Linked DNA regions of Homo sapiens: region 2 is linked to region 1. Evidence: promoter capture Hi-C in 16 types of primary human blood cells and fetal thymus (Javierre and others, 2016). All regions are on one chromosome and are shown on one strand. Each heading gives the region's core, a stretch centred on a gene start or on the middle of the fragment in contact. The rest is flanking DNA. Distances are from core to core; before and after follow the strand shown.

The links. The method cuts DNA at HindIII sites, captures the fragments that hold promoters and counts their contacts. A CHiCAGO score of 5 or more calls a contact.
Region 2: a contact is called between a fragment that was not itself captured here and the fragment with the promoter of TMEM244 in region 1, in 1 of 17 cell types (erythroblasts). The highest score is 5.0, in erythroblasts.

Annotation. Positions count from the first base shown.
Region 1 is chr6:129,859,052-129,863,036 of GRCh38, reverse strand. TMEM244 (transmembrane protein 244) reads left to right here and starts at 1,722. Exons shown (of 5, transcript NM_001010876.2): 1 at 1,722-1,881. The coding sequence starts at 1,849. LOC105377999 (a long non-coding RNA gene) reads right to left here. Exons shown (of 8, transcript XR_942986.3): 2 at 3,612-3,707. The HindIII fragment of the contact is 8,219 bases long and covers 1-2,588 here.
Region 2 is chr6:129,598,563-129,602,547 of GRCh38, reverse strand. ARHGAP18 (Rho GTPase activating protein 18) reads left to right here. Exons shown (of 15, transcript NM_033515.3): 11 at 1,700-1,906; 12 at 3,192-3,332. Among named protein-coding and RNA genes, the nearest start is that of ARHGAP18, 110 kb to the left of the region's middle. RefSeq lists an enhancer at 3,390-3,684. The HindIII fragment of the contact is 1,621 bases long and covers 1,552-3,172 here.

The DNA.
Region 1 (3,985 bases), core at 473-2,972:
TCAATCAACAAAGTGAAGACACCAACCCGCAGAATGGGAAAAAAAATACTCAAACACTACCCATCTGACAAGGGGCTAACAACCAGAATATATAAGGAGCTCAAACAACTGTAGAGGAAAAAATCTAATAATATGATTTAAAAATGATCAAAATATCTGAATAGACATTTCTCAGAACAAGACATACAAATGGCAAACTGGTATGTGAGAAGTGCTCAACATCATCGATCATCAGAGAAAGGCAAATCAAAACTACAAAGAGATATGACTTCACCCCAGTTAAAATGGCTTTTATCCCAAAACAGGCAATAACAAATGCTGGTGAGGATGTGAAGAAAAGGACACCCTCATACACTGCTGGTGGGAATGTAAATTAGTACAGCCACTATGGAGAACAGTTTGGAGGTTCCTCAAAAGAGAAAAATAGGACTGCCATATGATCCAGCAATCCCACTGCTGAGCATATACCCCAAAGAATGGAAATCAGTCTATCGGAGAGGTATCTGCATGCCCATGTATATTGCAGCATGTTTCACAATATCCAAGATTAAGAAACAACCTAAATGTCCATCAACAGACAAGTGGATAAAGAAATGTGGTACAGGTACAGAATAGAATTCAGCCAAAGGAAAGAATGAAATCCTGTCATTTGCAACAATATGGATGGAACTGGAGGTCCTTATGTTAAGTGAAATAAACCAGGCACAGAAAGACAAACTTCATATGTTCCTACTTATTTGTGGGAACTAAAAATGGAAACAATTGAACTCATTGAGATGGAAAGTAAAAGAATGGTTACCAGAAGCTGGGAAGGGTAGTGGGAGAAAAGGGGGAGTGTGGGGATGGTTAATGCATACAAAAAAGAGAGAGAATGTATAAGATCTAGTATTTGATAGCACAACAGAGTGACTATAGTCAATAATAATTTAATTGTACATTTAAAAATAACTAAAAGGGTATAATTGGATTGCTTGTAACACAAAGAATAAATGCTTGAGGTGATGGAAATCCCACTTACCTTGATGTGATCATTACATATTAGATGCCTATATCAAAATATATCATGTACCCCATAAACTCTATGGGGTATATTACTATATTACTATGTAATCACAGCAATTAAAAATTAAAATAAAAATAATAATAGAGTTGGTGCCAGTAAAAAGATGGGAGAATGAATTGTAAATGAAGGATTGGTTCTGGAGCCTCAGGACGCAGAGAGACAGAGCTCCAATACTGCCTCCTGGCAGTTCTTGAAAACATTCTACCCACAATATTGTGGCCATTATTTTAGAGTATGGGAACCCTTTTGTTTCCTAACAAAAAGTCATAAGTTTTACATTTCTTTGCCATGATGTGAAAGGAACTGATGATTTCTTTCTCAGAACTCTGTGGCCCTTGTGAGTGAAACAGAGAGGACAGGCCACGCTTCAACATGAATGCAGCAGCATCCTTTGGAAACAATCTCAAGACCTAACTGAAAACCCATGTTTCTAATTTAAGTATGAGACAGTAATTACTCATACAGCCAGAGAGGATTCCAAGTCCCTGCCTATTTGCCGCACTATCTAAAAACAATCAACTCATCTTTCAAATCTGACCAAACTACAAATGGTATGAGAACTCCATCGTTTAATAAGGATGTTCATTTTGGCACTTAGCAGCTTACGCGTGGCTCACAGATGGCATCTGTCTCGTTTTGCGTAATCCAATCATCCTGCACTACTGCGTCTCACACTTAGTCTCCAGGAGTAATTGAAAAGCTCACGGTGACAATTGTGTCTTCTTCCAGATGTCATCGCTATAAGGAGTGGGGCTTTCATCACCTCCTTGACGTAGGATGTGTACATGGCTCTCCAGGTCAGAGTTGCTCCAAGCAAGGTAAAGAGAAATTACTTCTTTGCATTGCCTTTCAGTTGCTGCCTAGCACTGGTGTAAATGAATATGTTCTATAAATGGCCTCTCTGTCAGTGGGCAACTTGTTTCACTTTTGGCTGGGTACCATACAGAAAACATTCTGCTGCACGGCTTGCATCTTGTGGTAATAGGGCAATATAAAGGCACCCATGCCCAAGAAAGGATTCTAAAACATGTAAATAGTCGCTGTTTAGAAGGCACCATTTTATTCGGAGGTAAGCTCTCTGGTATTAGCACCTGCACGTCTGCTATCGTTTTCTGAAATCATGACAGTTTGTTCTCAATCTTTTTTTCTTTTTTTTTTTTGCAGGGAGTGGCTTTTATTTTTGTAACTTCTAAAGGGTGCGCAAAATTTTAAATGCAAAGTGTTGAAACATTTCAAGCTGTAGGTTTGTTAGTTTCTTTTTCCCCCGAGGCTAGTGTTAATAGTTGTGTTTTACTTCAGTGCAAAAATACCCCTTTAAAAAAAAATCAAACAATCGAAAACAAGGAAATATGCAAAGCCTCAAAGCAGCTGTGTAAATTCATACAGGCTTTAGGCCTATAATGAGCCAGACTTAAGGGAATGATAGTGGAAAATCAGATTTTTACTTAAAAATTAAATTACAATTATGAGTGAGTGCTACATTCATTTTAGTAAAATATCAGCACCGTGTGTATTTCCTCAAGCTTTTTCTTTACACTACCATCATCACCACATATGTCATCAGTGAGAAATGTTGAGCATGACAACAGCTAAGAAAAATTTTCAAGGTCAGTAAAACATTATTTCAGGAAAAATATTTTTAAAAAGCTTATTTTTAAGGGGTTATTAAACTTCGTAATTTATGTATAGATTTGGGATTGAACTAGCAATAATAACTTCTGCTGAAGAGATAAAAATTAGAAGATAAAATCCTTTCTCTTAAGTAGCTTACACAAAGAATGGGGGCTCTATATTTAGTCGGGGCTTACACAGACCAGACAGACAGACACACACACACACACACACACACACACACACACACACACACACGCATTGCAGAGAAAATATCCAGATAGTTGCTGCAGTTCCTCACTATCTTAGAATCATCTGAGCTTCAAGTGTAGAATTAGAGCCTTAGAACATTAGAAGAATAGTGAATATGTTCAAAATAGATAGGTTGTTGACTATCTGAATTCTCATGATACATCCCTATAAGTTATGAGTTAACTTTTCTTTTAAGTGCTTGTTCACTGTCAATATTATCAGCACAAGAATTACTGATATGCTTATAAATTAATAGTAATAGCAAAAGTGACCTTCATCTAGAGATAACTCGAATACTCAACAAACATTTATTGAGTGCATGCAATGTGCCAGGCATTGGGCTAATTAAATCCCCCCTATCTGTACACTTTAAATGACAGAAAAGCTGACTCAAGGGAAAGAGTCATGGCCAAAGGCCATTTAATTAATTTGCTGTCTGGGAAAATAGCACAAGAACTGGGAAGAAAGCCCAAGTATGAGGACTGCTAAACTGTTCAGAATACAATGTATTCTACTCCAGTAGACGGCATGTTTCCTAACTATGTTAAACTAATGTAAACTTTCCTCTGTAAAACAAATGTTGTAAAAATCTCAGAAGCACAACACATTCCTGCATATCCTCAGAGTTGTTCACCTGAACTGGAGAATTTCATTCATTCAGGCAATTTCAGAGGGAACTACTTACCAGTAGGACGGAGCCTTTGCTGTGATTCTACAAGTGAGAGAGTCATATCTCATGATTTCTCCAGGAATTGTCCAAAGAACTACAATGCAGTCTTTCCTATGGGGAGAAGTAAGAGAGAAAGTATTATCTATTGGGAACATACAGTACTTAATGTTAAGAATTGTATACATGTTCAGAATACAAATCCCTTATGAAACTTTACCTGTAGATGAGTAGAACAAAACTCAGAAAGTAACCAGCCAATGTCACACACTTGTCAGTGATGAACTGGGGGAGAAACTCCAGTGGATCTGACTTAGAGTCCACATACTTTATTAATAGACTATGGTTCCGGCCAGGCGTGGTGGCTCATGCCTGTAATCCCAGCACTTTAG
Region 2 (3,985 bases), core at 1,113-3,612, 260 kb after region 1:
AGTTATACTTGATTCAAAAGCAACCTGTTAGCACTTACAGGAATTTTTTTTTCCAGAAATTCTTTGGAAGATAGATACTTTTTTTCCTTTTTCCATTTTAGTATAGTATATTTGGCCTTTTTAGGGTAGGGATTTTAGGCTAACTCTGAAAAAATGATTCTTTTAATAGTTAAGAATTTAGAAACAAAAGCCAGATAGACCTGTAATTAAATTCTTTCTCAGGATTTGTTAGCTGTATGACCACCAGGAAGTTACTTACATTCTCCAAACATTGTTTTCTGATCTGTAAAATGGAGGTAATTACAGCATCTGTCTCCAAGTTAGGATTAAGTAATCTCTATCGTGCTTCATAAACTGCCTCATTCATAGAGAACATTGAATACCTGTGCAGTTATAGTTACTGTTGTTCTAGAACAAAAGAAGAAGGCAAAAGAAAAATCTGAAGCCTTAAGTCATGTTAGAGTAGGGTGACCTCAGCTGCATTTGCCTTTTGGAGAAGGTAGTTTCAGAGGACAATGAGTGTCTGCAATAGGGGTGGGTGTACGTGGCATCAAGCTGAGCATAACCTAACCTGTTCTGATGAAAAGTTTCTTTTCATTCATTTTAAAAAAAATTCTCAGCTGGGTATGGTGGCTTACACCTGTGTAATCCTAGCACTTTGGAAGGATGAGGTGGAAGTGTTTCTTGAACTCAAGAGTTCAAGACCAGCCTGGGCAACATTGCGAGAATTTGCCTCTATGAAAAATCAAAAAAATTAGCCAGGCATGGTGGCATGCACCTGTGGTCCCAGCTACTCTGGAGACTGAGGCAGGAGGATCACTTGAGCCGAGGAGTTTGAGGCTGTAGTGAGCTATGATCTCTCACTGCACACCAGCCTGGGCAACAGAGTGAGACCTGGTCTCAAAAAAAAAAAAAAGAAAGATTCTCTTTGGTCTTTCCTCATTTCCCCGCTTTCTCTATCACAATATTCCCTCACCTCTCTTTTCTTTTCTCTTTTCTTTTCTCTTTTCTTCTCTCTTTTCTCTCTTCTCTCTTTTCTCTTTTCTCTTTTCTCTCTTCTCTTCTCTTCTCTTTTCCTTTTTTGAGAGAGGGTTTCTCTCTGTTGCCTAGGCTGGACTCAGACTCCTAAGCTCAGATGATCCTCCCACCGATCTGGGACTACAGGTGTACACCACCATGCCCAGTGCCTGGGACTACAGGTATGCACCACCATACCCAGTGCCTGGCTCATTCTTTATAAGTTCCACATCAGCCAGATATTGATTGCCTTAAAGAAATGAGACTGAAGTTGAATGACCCTTTTTGAGGGAATTTTTAAAAATCTCTACATAGGAAAGTACAGCATTTCCTGAAATAAGCAAATGTTTGTATGATGTTTTACATTACTTTTCAGCTCTCCATGACTCCCATAGGCCAGAGGTCTGACACTTCCCCACTCCTCTCTCTGCTCCCTAGTTCAGCTATGTGCCATCTCTGCTTCATTCCCCAGCACCATGGTCCTTAGTAGAAGCAAATTTCCATCTCAGGGAGCATCAACCAAATGGAGAAGCTTTGGTAACAGGGCCTGCTGGATGTGATTAGTTGACTGTGCTTATACACAACTTGTTTTTTCAATGAAATAAAAATTGCATATGCTACAGTGCTTTAATCTTTTATCTTCATATATGACACAAATCTCAAAGAGTCATTTCTGTTTCAGGCCCTTCTTGAATTTCTCCAAAGAGTAATAGATAATAAAGAAAAAAATAAAATGACAGTCATGAATGTAGCAATGGTCATGGCCCCGAATCTCTTTATGTGTCATGCATTGGGATTGAAGTCCAGTGAACAGCGAGAATTTGTAATGGCAGCTGGGACAGCAAATACCATGCACTTATTGATTAAGTACCAAAAACTTCTGTGGACAGTAAGTATATATCATATGCTTTGGTCTTAGTAGTTTAAAAAACAAATTGCATGTTTGTTATTAGCTTTATTAATTTACATTTAAAATTTGTGAGTGCAGAAAATATTAAAAACATTTTATTCATATAGGTAAGGAGGGCCCTGTGAATTTCTGTTTTAAAATTATGTCAAAACATGCCTTGTAAGAAGTACTTTTTATTTACTTCTGCCTATTTTCCCATTTCTCAGTGTTTAGGCCTGCTGTATTTTTAAAAGCCCATGCTATCTTGGTTTCAGATTATTCAGTTCTTTTTCATAGACCCTTTATTGAAAGGGATGCATGCATTTTGTACCCTTATTAACTGAGAACATCTTCAAAAATGGTTTCCTCTGTTTTACACTTATTTTGAGCTTGTTTTGACAGCTTATCAGAGGATGGAAGTGGATGAGAGGCTTCGTTGATTAGGTGCTCATTTTCCAATGAAATTTATAATTTTTCAGGAGGCATCTTATAAGCATTTAGGAAAAAATGACCTAAAGGAATTCCAAGCAAAATTATAATATTGAATATTTCAATCTCTTATTTGAGGAGCTTCCAAACATTAATTTGTTAAAAAGACAGAGTGATGATATTTAGATCCTGAAGTCTTTATTTTTATAATCCATAAAAAGACAACTGATGTAGATGATTTCAAATGTGTTTTTTTAATAAAAAATTAATGTCCATTTATTAAATCTCAATGTTTGAAATGTCAAAATTATTTCATGGTTACATTTTGATACCTTAAAATATTTTGTTTTTGCTAATGTGATTTCTTAGGATAAATTTGTTCTGGATTTTTGCTAGCTACCTATCAGCTCTTGTTTCTTGGGGAGTTCTTTCTCTCATGACAGCAGCGGCTAGCTGGTTATTAGAAGGGGACTTGAGGTTAGCTAGCAGGGCTGTAGGTAGGAGGCTGCAAAAGGAAAGACCTACGGAGGTGGCTTCTACTGCTCGTCACCTCAGGGGGTCTCCAGTCTGGCATAGAAAACGGCCACTATGTCCTTGAACTTCACAAAGCCTCTTTTGGAACCTTCCACAGTGGGTGGCAAATTATACCACGTGGATGCCCTGTACACCTGGTAAGTGAATAATATGAAGTATTTTCTTTTCACAGATTTAATGAATAGTGCATGTAAAATGGCAGTCTTATCAAAAAGAGAAACTCTTTACTGTTTTTGAAATTTAAAAAAATATAATTTTTTTTTGTAGTTTAAAATGGTGGCATTTCTTTTTCCTCTCTAAGCTTAATTCCTTTTCTCTATAGATTCCCAAGTTTATTGTAAACCAAGTGAGGAAGCAAAACACGGAAAATCATAAAAAGGATAAAAGAGCCATGAAGAAATTGCTGAAGAAAATGGCTTATGACCGAGAAAAATATGAAAAGCAAGATAAGAGTACAAATGATGTAAGAAAATAGTGGAGATATGTATTTATTCAGATCTTAAGTATTTTTTTAATACCAAAATTTTTTATTTAATGTTTTCATAGTATGACTTTCTGCCACTTATTAGGCTGTGGTGCTACTTGTAAGTGAAAGACATCAGTAACTGTCTTCCTACTACTGCTGCTAATGATCAGTATTGACAGTTGGTCAGGTGTTGGTGACTCAGCATGTGAGTTGTTAATGGGGAACAAAGGAAGATATCAAGACAAGACTGAACACACACACACACACACACCCCTACACCCCTACCCCTACCTCTACCTCTCGTGCGGAGACTCTAGTCGCCTACTGAATATATAATCTATAGTGAGTAAATAACATCATGTGAACCACTGACATTTTTTTCTAAATTTTTCTCATCTGTAGAATGGGGAAAAATAACTAATCCAGATGGACAAATAGGTTAATGTTTGTGTTGTGCCTAGGATTATTCCTGGACTTTAATAAGTATTTGAAGGTTCTCAATTTGATCAGAAGAATTTTGAGAGCTAAATTGGAAAGAAAAAAATTAAGATGTTTCAAAAAAGAAATACCTAAATATCTGTATTTATAAACTACTGTAAGAGTATATTAAGAACTGGGTTTACAATAATAAAATATACATGGATATACAT